7 separate regions of the Homo sapiens genome follow, and all the other regions are linked to region 4. The links are contacts of gene promoters, found by promoter capture Hi-C in blood cells and fetal thymus (Javierre and others, 2016). All regions are on one chromosome and are shown on one strand. Each heading gives the region's core, a stretch centred on a gene start or on the middle of the fragment in contact. The rest is flanking DNA. Distances are from core to core; before and after follow the strand shown. Region 1 overlaps ZNF155 (zinc finger protein 155). Region 2 has its middle 12 kb from the start of ZNF607. Region 3 overlaps ZNF571 (zinc finger protein 571). Region 4 holds the start of ZNF583 (zinc finger protein 583). Region 5 overlaps ZNF540 (zinc finger protein 540). Region 6 overlaps ZNF875 (zinc finger protein 875). Region 7 overlaps ZNF527 (zinc finger protein 527).

The links. The method cuts DNA at HindIII sites, captures the fragments that hold promoters and counts their contacts. A CHiCAGO score of 5 or more calls a contact.
Region 1: a contact is called between a fragment that was not itself captured here and the fragment with the promoter of ZNF583 in region 4, in 1 of 17 cell types (activated CD4 T cells). The highest score is 5.9, in activated CD4 T cells.
Region 2: a fragment that was not itself captured here is called in contact with the fragment with the promoter of ZNF583 in region 4 in 2 of 17 cell types (total CD8 T cells and total CD4 T cells); the score reaches 8.5 in total CD8 T cells.
Region 3: a fragment that was not itself captured here is called in contact with the fragment with the promoter of ZNF583 in region 4 in 2 of 17 cell types (total CD4 T cells and non-activated CD4 T cells); the score reaches 8.4 in total CD4 T cells.
Region 5: a contact is called between a fragment that was not itself captured here and the fragment with the promoter of ZNF583 in region 4, in 2 of 17 cell types (naive CD8 T cells and non-activated CD4 T cells). The highest score is 10.0, in naive CD8 T cells.
Region 6: a fragment that was not itself captured here is called in contact with the fragment with the promoter of ZNF583 in region 4 in 1 of 17 cell types (naive CD8 T cells); the score reaches 8.1 in naive CD8 T cells.
Region 7: a contact is called between a fragment that was not itself captured here and the fragment with the promoter of ZNF583 in region 4, in 3 of 17 cell types (non-activated CD4 T cells, naive CD8 T cells and total CD4 T cells). The highest score is 11.6, in non-activated CD4 T cells.

The regions. Positions count from the first base shown.
Region 1 is chr19:43,988,947-43,991,646 of GRCh38, forward strand. ZNF155 (zinc finger protein 155) reads left to right here. Exons shown (of 5, transcript NM_198089.3): 3 at 2,602-2,700. Among named protein-coding and RNA genes, the nearest start is that of ZNF155, 6.1 kb to the left of the region's middle. The HindIII fragment of the contact is 3,880 bases long and covers 1-2,700 here.
Region 2 is chr19:37,730,658-37,733,357 of GRCh38, forward strand. No RefSeq gene overlaps it. Among named protein-coding and RNA genes, the nearest start is that of ZNF607, 12 kb to the left of the region's middle. The HindIII fragment of the contact is 1,063 bases long and covers 733-1,795 here.
Region 3 is chr19:37,581,351-37,584,050 of GRCh38, forward strand. It overlaps ZNF571 (zinc finger protein 571), which reads right to left. Exons shown (of 4, transcript NM_016536.5): 3 at 2,621-2,700. The region is part of intron 5 of ZNF571-AS1 (ZNF571 antisense RNA 1); the gene reads left to right. It also overlaps a transcript of ZNF540 not described here. Among named protein-coding and RNA genes, the nearest start is that of ZNF571, 12 kb to the right of the region's middle. The HindIII fragment of the contact is 5,270 bases long and covers 1-2,700 here.
Region 4 is chr19:56,403,048-56,405,747 of GRCh38, forward strand. It overlaps ZNF583 (zinc finger protein 583), which reads left to right and starts at 1,285. Exons shown (of 5, transcript NM_152478.3): 1 at 1,285-1,405. RefSeq lists an enhancer at 709-848 and a silencer at 1,309-1,518. The HindIII fragment of the contact is 8,045 bases long and covers 1-2,700 here.
Region 5 is chr19:37,602,835-37,605,534 of GRCh38, forward strand. All of the region lies in intron 4 of ZNF540 (zinc finger protein 540), which reads left to right. Among named protein-coding and RNA genes, the nearest start is that of ZNF540, 9.3 kb to the left of the region's middle. The HindIII fragment of the contact is 7,334 bases long and covers 1-2,700 here.
Region 6 is chr19:37,360,173-37,362,894 of GRCh38, forward strand. ZNF875 (zinc finger protein 875) reads left to right here. Exons shown (of 5, transcript NM_001353803.2): 5 at 1,937-2,722. Among named protein-coding and RNA genes, the nearest start is that of ZNF527, 9.6 kb to the right of the region's middle. The HindIII fragment of the contact is 7,616 bases long and covers 1-2,722 here.
Region 7 is chr19:37,380,999-37,383,723 of GRCh38, forward strand. All of the region lies in intron 4 of ZNF527 (zinc finger protein 527), which reads left to right. Among named protein-coding and RNA genes, the nearest start is that of ZNF527, 11 kb to the left of the region's middle. The HindIII fragment of the contact is 4,583 bases long and covers 1-2,725 here.

The DNA.
Region 1 (2,700 bases), core at 22-2,521, about 12 Mb before region 4:
GGTTACATCATATTCCTATTACATTGATGTATCTTTTTATTTATAACTACCTCACGCTCATAGACATATTTTAAGCAACACTGCAGTGACAGCTTTCCTATACATAACCTTTTCCCACAAAATTAATTTTGAAAACCATATGCCATTTTAGCTCAATTTTGAAAGGGTACTTTTGATATGTACCACATTGGCTGTTTTGCAGATAGAATATTTTAACTAGGCACAGAACAAAAGGATGTAACTGCTGCACCACACAAATATTGTTGGAGTTTTCACACTGGAAGAGCTAGATTCTGTGTTCTCCTTGTCTCAGTCATACTTTGCATGTGCTTTATTTACTGGTCTCTTCTTATTCATTTATGTAGTAAGCAGTTTAACCAAAGCAGTAGAAAGCCTTCATTTAAAATGTCCAGTGATACTAAGTTTTGCCAATCACTTGTGTTCTGTTACTACATTTACTCCTCAGCGCAGCGGAATGAGGTTCCTGGTCTCTTCTTCTTCTTGAACAGGTGAAATATGAGAAACCTTCTCAGGTGTACACAGGCAACCAAAGGTCAGGAGTGTTAGCCATTCGGCTCAGGTGAAAAAGAGAAACAAGGAGAGAGACAGAATTCTCCATTGAGCAACCTGTGCCCTGTGATGTGGATGTCTGGAGTGCCCTGTGGAGTGATGGTGTCCCTAGTGGTGCTGCTCCTCCCTGTCCCTACTTGGTGTGACTTCTTGTCACATGTCACTATGACATGGCATCTACTCCAGGCACTGAAGTATACTGATTACCATAGTTGTTATAGAAAATCTTTAAATCCCTTTTGGCAAAAGATGCCTCACACAATGTTACCAGAAGAAATAATGACCTGGGGCAGAAATGTTAGCCACGTGGATACCTAAAGAAAATAAAATTCAAAATCAAAACCTTGAGCACAGAATAAAGGAAAAACTCCAAACAGATAGGAACAAAGGACACTAAAAGGCCAATGTAAAAGGAGAAGTAGAGATGGCCAATAACCTTGAAAAGTGATGGTTTTCATTTGTAATCAAATAAGTGAGAATAATAGAATGATTTGTTCCCCAAATCAGATTACCAAGACTGTGGGAATACTTATAACCTGCTCTTGGTCATGATAAAGAGAAGCAAAGTACTTGTATTCTGTTCAAAGATTATGGAGGTAGGTAAAAAACTGGGAAGAAAGCATGCAGTTATATGATCACAGTTCTAAATGTGCTTATTTTTTGATGTTTTAATTTTCATTTGAAATTATTATTTTAAACAATGAGAGAGTAAGATGTTCTTACATCTTGCTACATCATTACTTAATGATGCTCTTTACAGGATTGATAATGGAAAATATGTAAAATTAAATATTCTTTACTGTAGCTAAAAGTAGGTCATCAGATCTCTGGAATACTATGCAGCCATGAAATAGATAATGCTAGTAACAACAGTAAAAAAGATTCCAGCTAATGTTCATTAAACAGTGGCACAGATGTTTCCAAATGCTATGTATTTCCTTGTTTAATCCTTTAAAATACTGTGCCAAATAAGGACTATTATTTAGAGAGGAAAGTAAATCCTGTAGGCAAACATGTCTAAGGCCACACAGTTAGGAAGGGGCAGACCCTTAGGATGTACAGTGATGCATTCTGGCTTCTGATCAGGACACTGAAGGCTGCAATTAACATTTGTGGTTTGTACCTTGAGAGTAGAGGACACACTACATAACTGTCCCACTCAGCTGTCCACACTGGTACTGTGGAGTAGGTTCACTGTGCACTGATTACCAACTTGTGTGAGTCCTGTGAGACAGAACACGATCTCACTCAACAGATTACGTGAAGCAGATTTGTTATCTACAAATTGGCAGCAAGGGAGCACAGGAGTGTAGGATACACTGTGAGGTGGCCATCCAAGGCTGAAGAAAACGTCCTGGGGTGGGTAGAATCTTGACCCCATTTCCACCAGAGCAGAGGTACCCCAGAAGGCAGCCCACCCGAGGTTATATACCTCCGGGGCAATACGACTTACTGGGCACTTTCTCCCTAACTCAAGACATTATCTTCCCTAGGAAGGACAGGAACATTGCATTGCTAGCATGTTCTATGTTTATTCTTCAAAACTATACACAAGAAAGAATGATTCAAGGCCACCCTGAAAATTACCCACAGTTACCTAAAACTTGTTAGTTTAGCAAATACTAAAGAAAAGCAATAGCATCCAGGGTTTGAGTACGAGAGAGGAGGACCCAACAAAGTTGGGACTGAATTGTTTAATGTTGCTGGGGCAGTTGGCAAGATGTGTCGAACCTATATATGGGTAGCTCAGGATGCAGCATGTAGAGTCCTAGAGGGTTACATACAAGTAGACTCAATGAGTGCACAGAATAAATGTATGAGACTTCATCATTGCACTTCTGGTGGAGTTCAGGAAAATCAGTATGTGTCATTGTCAGGATATAGACAGAATGAGTGGGAAATCTCTAAGTTGACCTACATCCCTCAATACTGAGAACAACTTTCCACTCATCCCCTTCCCCTGCTCAATGCCGCTTCTCCCCCAGTAGTCCTTGGTCATAAGATTGAAGTTATGTCTTCTTGATGTTGTAGGAGGCAGTGACCTTCAAGGATGTGGCTGTGGTCTTCACTGAGGAGGAGCTGGGGCTGCTGGACCCTGCCCAGAGGAAGCTGTACCGAGATGTGATGCTG
Region 2 (2,700 bases), core at 14-2,513, about 19 Mb before region 4:
GTGGTTTTTGTTTGTTCCAAGAGCAGGAGATTGCTTCATTGGCTTGTCTAAGAACATAAACCATTTTTCAATTATCAAGTACAGTGGTCATCTAACCTATAGCAAAATCATTCTGCATTGTGTTTTATTTCATTATCAAAACTTAAAATTGCATAGGGGAAATGATGTTAATATTTAAAGGCGAATTATTTCCTTTGTGGACAAAAGGGATATGAGCATGTAGATCACAACGAATGATCACACTGACACTACAGACACAATGAATGATCACGCTGACACTAAAGACACAACAAATGATCACGCTGACACTACAGACACAATGATGACGCTGACACTACAGACACAATGAATGATCACGCTGACACTACAGACACAACGAATGATCACGCTGACACTACAGACACAACGAATGATCACGCTGACACTAAAGACACAACAAATGATCACGCTGACACTACAGACACAATGTTCACGCTGACACTACAGACACAACGAATGATCACGCTGACACTACAGACACAACGAATGATCACGCTGACACTACAGAACTTTGGCTGACAATGCATAATGCGTGATGCTCCTTAGTTTGGAAAAGTAATTTTTATAGGGCTGGAAGTGAGTTTAGGTAGTTATCAACTGCAATCCTGATTTCCAAAAGGTTTTTAAAAAGGTAGTTTTTAGAATTGATGGTATCGTGCACATAATTCATCCCATTTATAAAACTGTATATAAAGCTTAGAAAAATTACAAGGATAAACACAGATCAACATTCCTTTTCTTTCATTTGTCTAGAATATATTGAACCAGAAGAATGAATTGACTCTGCCAGAAAAATGACTATTGCACAATTATTTTAAAAGAATCTTAGAGTTTGCTGATATCATACTCAGAAATTTTCCATTTACCCTAATGAGTGAAACTCATCTTGTTTTCAATCATGTTTTAAAAATTCCGATTTCCTACAATATCTATGTCATTTTGAAAAACTATATTCTTTCACAAATATAATTCCTTCTCAAAATACATTAGAGATTGCTAAATATTTTGGTATAAACATCAAAAATTAACTCTTTCTTTTGAGACTGGTTCTCGCTCTATTGCCCAGGCTGGAGTGCAATGGCATGATCTCGGCTCACTGCAATCTCTGCCTCCCAGGTTCATGCGATTCTCCTGTCTCAGCCTCCCAAGTAGCTAGGATTACAGGCGCATGCCACCATGCCCAGCTAATTTTTGTATTTGTAGTAGAGATGAGGTTTCATCATGCTGGCCAGGCTGGTCTCGAACTCCTGACCTCAAATGATCCACCTGCCTCGGCGTCCCAAAGTGCTGGGATTACAGGCGTGAGCCACTGTGCCCGGCAAAAATTAACTTTTAATTTAAAACATTTTCTTCATATCTCTTTTAAAATTTTTCTTGATTATATCTAGAGATTTAGCTCATGTTCCACAAAATGGGAGGGGGTAAGATTTGAATAAAAACTAGTTTTATTTCCTAATCATTAATCTCTTTATCTAGTTTTATTAATTTTTTCTTAATATTGGTATATTTGTTTTCCTTTCTTCTAGCCTCATATATTAACATTGTTTCTATCCACAGATTTATAGTCTAACCTTTAACAGGCAGTTCATATGTGCTACACAGAGAGATGAATACAATGACATCTTTTTGTTTCAATCCTTGTTTCCTGAATTAAAGGGATTATGTTTTCAAATTAACGGATCAATGTAGCACCCATCAAATTACTAATGCAAAATGGAATTGTTCAATGGAGAGCTGACAGTTGCCTCTTTAAGCAAGCTTTACAGTGTAGCATAAATAATCATGTAAAAACCTGATATGCTTTCAGAAGTCTGCAGCATCATTCATGAGATGTTCTTGACAAAAATCTCAACCTAATGAATTTTCTAGACATAACTGCCAATTTATGGGAAAACAAGGGACAGAGCAACAAGTTAAATCATACTGTGAAGCAGAAATCAAGAATGTGGGACATTCTTTGGGTACTTAAAAAAGAAAAATTCAGGCTGGGTGTGGTGGCTCACGCCTGTAATCCCAGCACTTTGGTAGGCCAAGGCGGGTGGATCACAAGGTCAAGAGATCCAGACCATCCTGGCCAACATGATGAAATCCCGTCTCTACTAAAAATGCAAAAATTAGCTGGGTGTGGTGGCATGCGCCTGTAGTCCCAGCTACTTGGGAGGCTGAGGCAGAATTGCTTGAACCCGGGAGGCAGAGGTTGCAGTAAGCCAAGATCGCACCACTGCACTCCAGCCTGGTGACAGAGTGAGACTCTGTCTCAAAAAAAAAGAAAAAAAAAAGGAAAAATTCAAAAGCATGAAAAAGTGGGGATATTATCCTAGAGAAAAGGAATAAATTAAAAAAAAATCCCAAATGCAATGAATTAACCAAGAGTGGATACTGATTAGAAAATAAGTCGTTATAAAAAATCTTTGGGCACATATTTGAAGACACTATATAAATTATTACATTTTTCCAGTATGATTATAGTATCACAGTTATCCAGGAAATTTGCATATATTTAAAGGCAAAGGGCCATGGTATCTACAACTTACTCTCAAATGATACAGAAATAACCCATACATAAGCGGATAAAAAGAGCTGAAATAAGATAAAGCAAATAACATGAATGTAAACATATATGGTGGGTTACTAAACAATTCTTTCATTTTTTCTGTATGT
Region 3 (2,700 bases), core at 62-2,561, about 19 Mb before region 4:
GTCTTAAAGCACACTTTCAAGCAACCGTCCTTTTTGACCACCACCACTGAAGTTACCAGATCATTTACCTTTATACCACCCCTCCAGCATTTTATCTCCATTTCTTTCTTTCTTTCTTTTTTTTTTTTTTTTGGAGACATGGTCTTGCTCTGTCGCCCAGGCTGAAATGCAGTGGCGTGATCATGGTTCACTGCAACCTCGACCTCGGGGCTCAAATGATCCTCCCAACTCAGTCTCCCAAGTAGCTAGGACCACAGGCATGTGACATAATGCCCTGCTAATTTTTATTTTAAGTAGAGATGGGGTTTTGCTATGTTGCCCAGGCTGGTCCTGAATTCCTGGGCTCAAGCAATTCACCCACCTCAGCCTCCCAAAGTACTGGGATTACAGGCTTGAGCCATTGTGCCCAGCCTACCACCATTTTAAAGATTCTCCTGTGAAAAAAAAACAAAAAACAAAAACCTCTCCTGATTCTGTGGTTCACCCTGCAGTGGACAGGAGCTGCAGGGTGAACCAGGAGAATGGCAAAACTTCTCAAGAGGTATGCATGCTTCCTGTCTATACCTTTTGCTTTTCTTTCTCTCCTACCACCATAATTAACATTTTGCCATATTTCCTTCCTAAATTTGTTCCATGGATTTTTATGTAGTTGAAATAATACTGCATATATAAACTCTAATCACACTTCTTTCCCCTAATTATTACAGTGTTCTTAAAACCTTCTAAAATATTGTAAACTCTATTTGTAACTTTGAGGGTTCCTCAAATGGGCCTTCAACAGTGCCTGGTGAGTTAATTCACTGTCCCACTCTAGTTTTTATTGTTGACTTACTTCTTTCTCACTCTCTTTTAAATACTCCACAATGAGGTTTTTGTTCCTCTCATTGCCAAACCCACCTTGTCAGGGTCACCAACACCCTTCATCCTGCCAAATCCAATAGCCAATTTTCAGCGTTCCTCTTACTTGAACTCCTAGCATTATCTCTCTCAGCTAACTGCTTCCTCCTTTTGTCAGTTGGCTTCCAATACACTGCATTCCCTCTTCCTAGGTCACAGGTTACTCAGGTTAGTCCTCAATTTCCTTTGCTAGATTGTTTTCCTGACTGAATGTTGGAACACCCCATGGTTCAGTCCTTGAGCTGTACCTTGCCTTCCGTCTAAACCAATTCGCTCCATAATCTCATTCAGTTCCTCGGTACAGAGAGTAATCCCATATTTATCTCTTCAGTCCTGACTATCCCCTCCACCCACAGGCTTCCAAATGCTTATCTAACTTCACCACACAGATATCTAATGAGCATATCAAATACGTAACTCTTGACTTCCTTCTCCAGCCTTCCAAACCCTGATGCCTCTATTGCCAATCTTCAAAATAACTCCATTATGAAGGTATTAATTCTACCTTCAAAATATAGCCTGTTCTCATCACCTCCACATATTAAACCCAATTCCAAGCCACTGTTATCTCTAGTGTGAACTTCTGAACTAGTCCTCTCATTAGTCTTCCTGCTTTCATTTTTATCCTCACTGTTCACATAGCACTCAGTGACCTCTAAACAAAGATCCTTTACTTGTCTGCAAAAAGTCAGCCAGGGGCTCCCTATCACACTTAGAATAAAATCTCACTGCTTGCAACAACCAACAAGGTCCTACATGATTTGACCTCTGCCTATTTCTCTAACCTCACCTCAAATTTCCACTTTCAGTAGCCACACTGGCCTTCTTGCTGATTCTCAAACAAGTGAAGCTCAGTTTCTCTCAGGATCTTCTCTTCCCTCTGCCTGAACACACCTTTCCCTGATTTACAGCCAACTTTATTCAGGTCTTAATTCAAATGTTACCTCCCCTGAGCTATCATTCCTGGTCCTCCTAACCTATGAACGTAGCAAGCTCTCAGTACGTATGTGCTGGCTAGAGATACTTATCCAAGTTTAACTATAAAAGAGCAACCAGGAAAAACGTAATTCAAAAAATAGATAAAAGCATTGTCCCCAAAAGAGATCAGACCAAAGGTAGCTCCCTTATTAAAACAAAAAGGGAATGTAAAACAGAAGAGTGGCAAATGGGAGTTGGGAGGGAGGTTCCACGGGGAACTCACACACATAACCTTCCTGCTCTCCCTATGTCTCAAGCCTTCTTTCCACAGGCCTTTGAAGAGAGCTTCAGGCACACACCTCAAAGTGCTGCCACCTACGGATCAGCTGTATTATTAGCAATAGCTGACACTGTGACCAGCCTTTATTCACCTGAGCTCTGTCTTTATGTCATGGTTCTCATCAGCATCCAGGGCTCCTTTCCTTGCTCCAGTAAGGAAAGTATATTTGGCTTAGGGACTGCACATACAGCTTAAAAGAAAGGAAATGGTGCATGGTCATGCTAGGGGATTCCCAGATTCAAATCTAGTCCATTGGCATCAAAGAAGGGAGACACTGACAGGAAGTGACAGAGAAAGATGTGACAGTCTAAAGGATAAGAGATAAAAAGGTACACGGTGGAGCTGTCCATTTCTACTTCTACTCAAACGTAAGCCTTTCCTTAGGGAATGGAGATCAGAAATTCACAATGAATGAGGCAGAAATTATGGGGAACAAATTCTGAATATTACGTAGGATGATCTTACCCAATGAGATCAGGTTGCTGTAGTTCTCCAACATCACATCCCTGTACAAGTCCCTCTGAGCAGGGTCCAGGCATTCCCAT
Region 4 (2,700 bases), core at 35-2,534:
CTGTAAAACTCCCAAAAGACAGGGTTTAGAGAGCTTCCACCCAGCTGAACATGTGGAGGTTACTGGAAGGTGCAACACCCTTTTTTCTGTACTTTGCCCTACGCATCTCTTCATCTATATCATTTGTAATATCCTTTATAATAAACTAGTAAACATAAGTGTTTCCTGAGTTCCGTGAGCCACTCTAGCAAAATATCGAACCGCAAAGAGGGGGTGGTGAAAATCCCAATTTGAAGGTGGTGGAGTCAGATGTTCCAGAGGCTAGACTTTAGTGGGAAGTGGGAAGGGGGAGGCAGGCTTGGGGACTGAGCCCTCAGCGAATGGTGTCTGACCCATCTCCAAGTAGACGGCGTCGGAATTAAACTGGAGGACACCCAGCTGGTGCCCGCTGCAGAACTCACTGAACTCATTGCTTGCTTGAGATGTGTGGGAAACTCCCCTATATTTGGTCAGAAAAGTCTTCTGTTATGATTAGTTGTCGTTGAGATAATAGAAAAAAATGCACCTTGCGTTTTTTCCACTGATTCAGAGGGCATAACTGAAAGAATGAAGAACTGAAAGAATGATCTTAATACTCTGCTTCGCTTTTCTTGATAATACGCATTACTTCCCAATATGCATCAGTGTCCTTTATTATTAATTTTTTCCTATTGAATTCCTCCCGCATTAGAATGCTGCTCCATGAGGTGGGGATTTTGTCTGCTTGTTCACTGCTGTGTGCCCAGGGCCCACGACAGTGCCCGATACAGCAGGCGCTCAATAAGTGGCGAATGAAAGACAGGGCAAGGCGGAGAGAGAAGAAACAGAAAGGGAAAGAGAAAGCCCGGGCCGCCAGAGCGCTTAATCACACGTACATCCTACCGGGCCCCTCTCCAGCTGGCTCAGGCTCCACACTGGTCCTCCAGCTCCCTTTTCTCAGCGATGGACTCACAGCCCCACCCGGAGCGCTGGAGCGCGGACGCGGTCACTGCGCGTGCGCCTCACCGCGCTGGCACCCCGGCCTGGCAGCCTTTGGGGACCTGAACCAGCTGCGCCTGCGCAGGTGGAACGGGTGGAACGGGTGGGGGAGCGGACAGTCGAACGGCCTGAGAGGGCTCAGCTGGTCCGGGTGGGATTCTGAAGGCCAGCGGAGGTGGGCTTACTAGGGAAAGGGGCGCAGCAGTAACTACCCGCAACTGAGCGGCGGGATCTGCGGCCGCCCGGGGCCCTCGGCCAACATCCCAGCATCCTCTGCGCCGCGCCGGCCCCGGACTCCATTTCCCAGCGGCCCCTGCGGCCTGCCCTAGGGCTGCGGCGCCTTTGTGAGCGCGGCCGCCGGCCAGGATCGAGCCCTGGCCCGGGCCCTGGCCCAGCCCCGGCCTCCAAGGACCGCGCCGAAGGAGGTGCCCACTGGAGGGAGGAGGCGGTGAGGAGCGCGGGATGGAGCTGACGCCGGGAGCGGCCATGCCACCATGTGTGGGACCGTGTGTGACAGTGTGTGAGAATGTGTGAGACATTAAGGAACCGTGTGTGACAATGTGTTTGACAGTGTGGAATCGTGTGTGAGACCATGTGTGACTGTGTGAGAATTTGAGACCGTGTGTGACAGTGTGAGAATGTGAGGCCGTGTGTGAATATGTGTGTCAGTGTGAGACCATGTGGGACAAATGTGGGACTATGTGTGACAGTATGAGACTGGGTGTGAGAATGTGTGCGACAGTATGAGACCGTTGCCCCGGTGTATGCGGGAGCCTTTGACAGTATATGGGACCGTGTGGGACTGTGTGACACTGTATGTGCTTAAGACCACGTCACCATGTGTGAGACTGGGAATGTGTGACAGTGTTAAACTGTCATTATGTGTAGACCACGTGTGAACAGTGTGTAAGACCATGTCACTGTGTGTGTGACCTGTGTGTGTGGGATAATGTAAGACTGTGTGACAGTGTGTGTGACTTTGTGAACAGAGCTTGACCGTGTGTGTAGGATTAGATGAGACTGTGACAGTATGTGAGACCATGTCACCGTGTGTGAGGCTATGTGTGGTTGTGTACGGTGTGTGGCTGTTGATATGGGACCACATGAAACTGCGACAGAATTTGTGTGACAGTGTGTGAGACTGTGTCACTGTATGTGAAACTGTATGTGAACAGAGTTTTTGTTGTTGGACTAAGATTGTATGTGACAGTGTTTGAGATTGTGCATGACAGTGTGTGTGATTATGTGAGACTGAGGGAGATGGTGTGACTTAGCACTGTATGTCATCCCGACAGTGAGTGTGACAGTGTGACTGAGAATGGCCTTATATGACCCATTGTGAGAGCAGGGCGGGCTACAATGTGGGGGCATGTCCATAGGTTGCCAGGGGAGGTGCCAGAATGAGAAACTATGTGGTTTGTTGTCTGTGATTTGTGTGGGCAGGAAGCTGTGTGGGTGCTTGGAGATGCTGGTGTGCTCTGGGGTTTGGGAGACTGCTGTTGTGGTGGAGAGACAGAAAGATTGAGATAAAGGGGAAAAGATGGAGAAAGGGAGGGACGAGAGCTGAAAAGGGAGAGACAGACAGGAGCCTCAGCCTTAAGCCTGAAAAGCTGACCACGCTGGCTGCTTGTCCTCTGGCACAGTAGTTTTTCCATCCCTCTCAGTCTCTGGGGGCACGTGAGGAATTTAAAAGGAAAAAGGAATGGGAGACCTACCATGTGCTGGTTATGAAAATAAATGACA
Region 5 (2,700 bases), core at 47-2,546, about 19 Mb before region 4:
AGGTTTCAGTGGAGTCAGAGGTGAAAAAAGCCTGCTAGATGTGGCTGAAATAAAATGGGAGGTGAGGCAGTGATGACAGTGAGATAGAAAACTTTTCTAATGGGAAATCTGTTAGGAGGGAACTAGATAAGAGGTTAGTAGCTAGAAGAGGATATGGGATGTAAGGAGTCTTTTTTTTTTTTTTTTTTTTGAGACAGAGTTTTGCTCTTGTTGCCTAGGCTGCAGTGCAATGGCATGATCTCGGCTCACTGCAACCTCCACCTCCCGGGTTCAAGCAATTCCCCTGCCTCAGCCTCCTGAGTAGCTGGTATTACAGGCGCCTGCCACCACGCCTGGCTAATTTTTGTATTTTAGTAGAAACGGGGTCTCACTATGTTGGCCATGCTGGTCTTGAACTCCTGACCTCAGATGATCCACCCATCTTGGCCTCCCAAAGTGCTGGGCGTGAGCCACCATGCCTGGCCAGGAGTCTATTTCAAGATGTGAGATTTTAAGATGAAAATGATTCTATAGAAAGGGGAAAAATTGTAGTAGAGGGAAGGATAATTATGGAAATTGGAGGACAAGGAGGTAGGATCCAGTGCACAAGAAAAATTTAGAGAACTATAGATACGACAATGGATATAGGTGGGTTGATTGATGTGGTATTATGTATTTCTTTTCAATGCTTCATTTTTATTAGAGGAATAAGGGAGATCATCAGCTAAGAATTGGCAGGAGGGAAAGGAGAGTTATGTTTGAGGTGAAAGATGTAAATATATTTTGAATACTGGTGTTCAGTTTACTTGCATCTCAATAGCTCGTTCACTTTTTATTTTCTGTTAATCAGGAGTTAATAATAATAACAGTTAACATTGATTATTTACTGTATACCAGATTTAGTCATTTCACAATGTATATATTCTTCAAAATATGTTGTACAGAGTAAATACATAAAATTTATCTGTCAATGTAAAAAATAATGCATTTTTAAAACTATGAAGAAAAGGCTATTAAGTTCTATATAGTATGTTGATTCCTCTATATCAAGCCAAATTCTGATTTGTATTTTATTTGCAGATTTTTTTTAGTTGAAATTCTTGGGCTGTATATAATCAGATCATTTGCAAATCATGATAGTTTTTCATTCTTTCTTAAAAATGTTTGCCTCTAAAGTTCTTAATTCTGCTTAGTTGTTTTGCTTATCATAATTTTATAAAAAGGATAAGATAACTTTTCTTTTTGCTCTTTTCTCGAGTAGCTAAACTAACTTTAAAATTATCTGTTCTTTAAAACTTTGATAGACGTCTATGAAATTGTTTGCAAGGATAGGTGTTTCACAATGGAATTTCATTTGCTTAGGCTTTTTATTTCTTCTGTGGTCAATACAGGAAATTAATAGTTTCCTTAAAATTTTTTATTCTGGAATATACAGGATTATTTTGTTTAGAGCATTACATAGAGCTTTGGAAAATAGCCTTACTTTTTTTTTTTTTTTTTTTTTTTTTTTTTAAGGCGGAGTCTCGCTCTGTCGCCCAGGCTGGAGTGCAGTGGTGCGATCTCGGCTCACTACAAGCTCCGCCTCCCGGGTTCACGCCATTCTCCTGCCTTAGCCTCTGGAGTACCTGGGACTACAGGTGCCCACCACCACGCCTGGCTAAGTTTTTGTATTTTTAGCAGAGATGGGGTTTCACCGTGTTAGCCAGGATGGTCTCGATCTCCTGACCTTGTGATCCGCCCGCCTCGGCCTCCCAAAGTGCTGGGATTACAGGCATGAGCCACCGCGCCTGGCCAGCCTTACTATTTTTTTTCAAATCAGCTTTATTGAGATATGATTTATATAGAATAAAATTCATTAATTGTATCTGTTTAATTATTTTGGACAAACACGTGAGTCTTGTAATCATCACCACTTCAGTCAAGATGTAGAACATGTCTATCATGTCAAAACTTTCCATTATGTTTCTTTACAGTCAGTACCCTTCCCCCACTTTCAGCTCAGCCCGTGACAGGCAACTAAGTTGCCTTCTTTCCCTAATTTTGTCTTTTCTACAATTTCATATCAAATAAATCAGAATATGCAGTATTCTGTGTCATACTACTTCTACTTCTGATATTTATGCGATTCATCCAAGTAGTTAGAAGTCTCAGTAGTTAATTCCTTTTTCTTGCTGAATAGTATTTCATATCTGCTTATTAGTTAACAGTTTATGAACATCTAAGTTGTTTCTAGTCTTTCGCAGGCATGAATAAAGCTATTATGAGTGCTTGTTTACAAGTCTTTGTTTTAATGTATGCTTTGTTACCTCGGGTTAAACACCTGAGGGTGGGATTCATGGATTATATAAGTATATATAAGAAACTGGGCTGGGCGCAGTAGTTCATGCCTGTAATCCCGGCACTTTGGGAGGCTAAGGCAGGCGGATCGCTTGAGCCCAGGGGTTCAAGACCAACCTGGGCAACATGGCAAACCCTGTCTCTACTAAAAATACAAAAATTAGCTAGGCATGGTGGTACACACCTGTAAAAACTTTATTTAAAAAAAAAGAAACTGGGCTGGGTGCGGTGGCTCATGCCTGTAATCCCAGCACTTTGGGAGGCCGAGGTGGGTGGATCACGAGGTCAGGAGTTCGAGACCAGCCTGACCAACATGGTGAAACCCCGTCTCTACTAAAAATACAAAAATTAGCCGGGTGTGGTGGCGTGTGCCTGTAATCCCAG
Region 6 (2,722 bases), core at 22-2,521, about 19 Mb before region 4:
AAAGAGTATCCTTCCTCCCATTGAATTACCTTGGCACCTTTATCAAAAATCAGCTGACTGTGAATCTAAGTGTTCATTTCTAGTCTCCTGATTTTGTTCCATGATCTCCATCTTCCTCCTATGACAGTAGCACACTATCTTCATTACTGTAGCTTTATATTAAGTTTTGAAGTTAGAAGTATACACTCCCCAACTTTATTTTCTTTTTCAGAAATTGTTTTGTCTATTTTATGTCCTTTGAATTTCAATGTAAGTTTTAGGATCAGATTGTGAATTTCCAAAAGGGAAAAAAACCAAAAGCCTGCTGTGGTTGTGATACCATGATTATGTTGAATCTGCAGATAAATTTTGGTGAGAATCACCATCTTAATAATAGTAAGCCTTCCAATCTATGACTGTCTCCCTATTTATTTGGAGCTTTAACTTCATTCAACAATGTTTGTTAATTTTCTTTTTAAAAATCTTTCTTCTTTTCCTCCTTTCCTTTCCTTTTCTCTTTCTCTTCTCTTTCTTTCATCCCACTATGTTGCCCAAACTGGCCTCTAACTTCTGGCCTCAAGCAATCCTCCCACCTCAGCCTCCTTAAGTGTTGGGATTACAGGCATGAGCCACCGTGCCCAGCCTTAATTTTCAGTTTACAAACTTTGTGCTACTTTGTCACATTTATTCCTTAGCATTTTATTATTTTTATGCTATCGTGAATAGTATTGTTTTCTCAGTTTCATTTTTAGAATAGTCATTGCTAGTATATAGAAATATAATTATTTTTTATATATTTATCTTATATGACCTAAGTACAATTATGACTTCTAGTTGCTTTTTTGAAATTTTATGCTTACAAAATTATATAATCTGTGAACAAGAGATTTTTTTTACTTCTTCCTTTCTAGTTAAGATGCCTTTCATTTATTTTCTCCTCATTTTGTTTGTCTTCTCCTTTTTTTTTTTTTTTTTTTTGAGACAGAGTCTCACTGTGTCACCAGGCTGGAGTGTGGTGGCACGATCTCAGCTCACTGCAACGTCCGCCTCCGGGGTTCAAGCGATTCTCCTGCCTCAGCCTCCCAAGTAGCCGAGACTACATGTGTGTGCTACCATAGCCAGCTAATTTTTCTATTTTTAGTGGAGACAGGGTTTCGCCATGTTGGCCAGGATGGTCTCAATCTCTTGACCTCGTGATCTGCCCGCCTCGGCTTCCCAAAGTGTTGGGACTACAGGCGTCATAAGTTTTTGAGAACACGTGCAATATTTGCCACTTCTTCTTTCTTCTTCTCCTTTTCCTTCTCCTCCTCCTCCTCCTTCTTCTTCCTTCCTTTCTCTTTCTCTTTTCTGTGTCTCCCTCTTTTGAATTCAACCCCTTAAAAAGGTAAAAACCATTTTTAGCTGGCAGGCCATACAGAAACAGGTTTCAGGCTGGATTTGGCCTGTCAGGTGAGTTTGCCAACTCCTGCAATAGAAAATGTAATGCATAGGGCTAGACACAGTGGCTTATGCCTGTAATCCCAGCACTTTGGGAGGCTTAGGCTGACCTGAGGTCAGGAGTTCAAGACCAGCCTGGCAAACACGGTAAAACTCTGTCTCTACTAAAAATACAAAAATTAGCTGGGCGTAGTCTTGGACGCCTGTAATCCCAGCTACTCGGGAGGCTAAGGCAGGAGAATCGCTTGAACCCTGGAGGCGGAGGTTGCAGTGAGCTGAGATCGCACCACTGCACTCCAGCTTGGGTGAAAGAAAGACTCCGTTTAAAAAAAAAAACAAAAAAACAAAAGAAAGTGTAATGCATGAAGTGAAATGAAAAATAGATGCTGGGAAGGATGTCTAACTGGGAGATAGCTTGTGATGTAAATATGTAAATATATTATGAATGACCAGTGGGCAAGGCAAAATTGCCTACACAGCCCTACCTATGGCCCCTCTGAAAATGTTCTTTCTTCAGCAGAATCGAAGCCAGAAATTCAACTTAGTCCCTCCTGCCCTCTGATTTTCTCCAGTCAGCAAGCTCTCAGCCAACATGTGTGGCTGAGTCATCTCTCTCAGCTGTTTTCAAGTTTATGGGCAGGAAATCCTCTCCACCTGGGAAAACACTATCCAGAAGATCAGAAACAACAGCAGGATCCATTCTGCTTTAGTGGCAAAGCAGAATGGATTCAAGAGGGAGAAGACTCCAGACTCCTGTTTGGGAGAGTAAGCAAAAATGGCACTTCAAAGGCACTTTCCAGCCCACCTGAAGAACAACAGCCAGCACAGTCCAAGGAAGACAACACAGTGGTGGATATAGGGTCCAGCCCTGAACGGAGGGCAGATCTAGAGGAAACAGACAAAGTATTGCATGGTTTAGAAGTCTCAGGATTTGGAGAAATCAAATATGAAGAGTTTGGGCCAGGCTTTATCAAGGAGTCAAACCTCCTTAGCCTCCAGAAGACACAAACTGGGGAGACACCTTACATGTACACTGAGTGGGGAGACAGCTTTGGCAGTATGTCAGTCCTCATCAAAAACCCAAGGACACACTCTGGGGGAAAGCCTTATGTGTGCAGGGAATGTGGGCGAGGCTTTACGTGGAAGTCAAACCTGATCACACATCAGAGGACACACTCAGGGGAGAAACCTTATGTGTGCAAGGATTGTGGACGAGGCTTTACTTGGAAGTCGAACCTCTTTACACATCAGCGGACACACTCAGGGCTCAAGCCTTATGTGTGCAAGGAATGTGGGCAGAGCTTTA
Region 7 (2,725 bases), core at 140-2,639, about 19 Mb before region 4:
GAATCCAACACATAAGGCACACACACAAATACACACATTTCCCATCCCCTATCTTATCAATGTCATCATTTTGATTAAGTCACTATTCAGCATTTATTTTATTATGGCCATTTAGTGCTAGTCATAGCTGTGCTGTGCATATGGCAAGTTACTTTTTCTCTACTCCTTTTTATTTTTCCTGGAGTTAATAATGACTTGGGAATTTTGTTTGTTTGTTTGTTTGTTTTTGCTCAGTTTATATATACATAACCCTAATCCAGTTCCCGACTTACCATCAATTGTCTGAGTCTTTCAAGATACTTGGACATATTAGGTGATCTATCCACTTCATCTTCTTGGAGAAATCTCTCCTGGAATCCTCAGATACGCTTCACTCTACACAAATGGCTCATTATATTTGCATGCACTCAATTTGGATCTATCTGATTTATCTGATATTTTCTCATAATTAGATTGAGGTAGTGCATTTTTGCAAAGAATGTCACAGAAATAATGTTGTATCTCTCTCAGTGCATCATTCCAAAGGATGTATAATATCGATATGTCTTATTATCGGTGATGTTAACTTTGCACACTTAGTGAAGGTAGTGTCTGCTTGGTTTCTCCATTATAAAGTTCTTATTTTTCTATTTGTAGTTAATAAATATCTTGGGGGAGATACTTTGAGATTATTCAGTTTCTTCTGTAATTTTTGCCCATTTATTTTAGCATTTATTGCTGGATCTCTTCAACTATTATTACTGTGGTATTAACCTAATGTTGATTTGTTCCATTTCCCTCTTTTCTTTGTGTATATTAATTGGGATTGTTCTGAAGGAAGAGCTGCTCTTTCTCCTCCATTTACTTATATATTCAATTATATTTATGGATTTTTTTCCTATGAGGTAAATCTAATTTACCTCATAAAATTTAATGACTTCATAAAATTTAAATGGATTTATTTTTGGATTTATGGATTTTTATTTCTATGAAGTAAATCCAATGAATCATTATGTTTCTCAAATCGTTCCAGCTTTGAATGTTGGAATCTCCTTCACATTGGTTCCTTTGACCTTCTGACATGCCCCCATGCATTTTTTGGGCACGTCCTTCCTTCTGGCACAAGGTATTCCAGGTTCTCTTATTTTCCTTGCCCCAGCCTTGAATCAACCACTTCTCCAAGGAGCCCTCATTGCTTTATTGGGAAATGGTGTTTAGAAACCAAGCTAGGTATGCTCTAGGCTACTGGGATATCACTCTTTCTGGCCCTGACAGCAGCTAAAGCTAGGAAACAGATAGATAGATAGGTAGATAGATAGATAGATAGATAGATAGATAGATAGATAGATAGATATTTACACACACACCCCTATATTTATTTCTGCCTCTTTTTTTCCCATTTTTTATTACCTCTATCTTTTTATATACTAAAACTATCAGTTTATATTAATAACTTGATTTCTAGTCCTGCTTTACAGGGTTTATTGTAGCCTTCCTCCTTGACTTATTTGTAATTTCTTTTTCTGATAATGAGAAAAAATATATTTACCTATTTGTTCAATTTTAGTATACACATAAAGTAGTTTCAGAATTTCTAACTTACTTCTCTGTGAGAAACAAATTTACCAACTAGATTTAGGTATTTGTATATAGTACTTTTTGTTTTAGTCTTATAGTGTCCAGTCAAAATACTATTTCCAAAATTACTTAGGTTGGTTATTTCAGGTCCATTTGTTACTGTTTTTGTTTGAGATGGAGTCTCGCTCTGTCACCAGGCTGGAGTGCAGTGGGCAATCTCGGCTCACTGCAAGCTCCGCCTCCCGGGTTCAAGTGATTCTCCTGCCTCAGCCTCCCGGGTAGCTGTGACTACAGGCGCATGCCACCACGCCTGGCTAATTTTTGTATTTTTAGTAGAGACAGGGTTTCACCATGTTGGCCAGGATGGTCTCAATCTCTTGACCTCGTGATCCGTGCCAGCCTTGGCCTCCCAAAGTGCTGGGATTACAGTTATGAGCCACCATGCCCGGCCGTATATACGTAGTTTTATAAGGAATTGCTACATTCCCCTCCAGAAAAGTTGTCTGCTTAGTTTTTTTCCTGCTGTAACAAATTAGCACACATTTAGTGGCTTAATCCAACACAAATTTATTGTAGCTCTGGAGGTCAGAAGTAAAAAGTAGGCCTTACAGAGCTAAAATCAAGATGTCAGCAGCCTATATTCCTTCCTAAAACTGTATGGGAGAATGCGTTTCCTTGATTTTTTATGCTTTTTTTTTGAGATGGAGCCTTGCTCTGTCACCCAGGCTGGAGTGCAATGGCACGATCTTGGCTCACTGCAACCTCTGCCTTCCAGGTACAAGGGATTTTCCTGCCTCAGCCTCCCGAGTAGCTGGGATTACAGGTGCTCACCATCATGCCCAGATAATTTTTGTAATTTTAGTAGAGACAGGGTTTCGCCATGTTGGCCAGGTTGATCTCAAACTCCTGACCTCAGGTGATCCACCCTTCTTGGCCTCCCAATGTGCTGGGATTATACAGGTGTGAGCTACCACACCCAGCTGATTTTTTTTTTTTTTTTGAGACAGAGTTTTTCTCTTGTTGTCCAGGCTGGAGTGCAGTGGCGCAATCTTGGCTCACTGCAATCTCCACCTCCTGGGTTCAAGCGATTCTCCTGTATCAGCCTCCCAAGTAGCTGGGACTACAGGTGCGTACCACCACACCCAGTTAATTGTTGTATTTTTAGTAG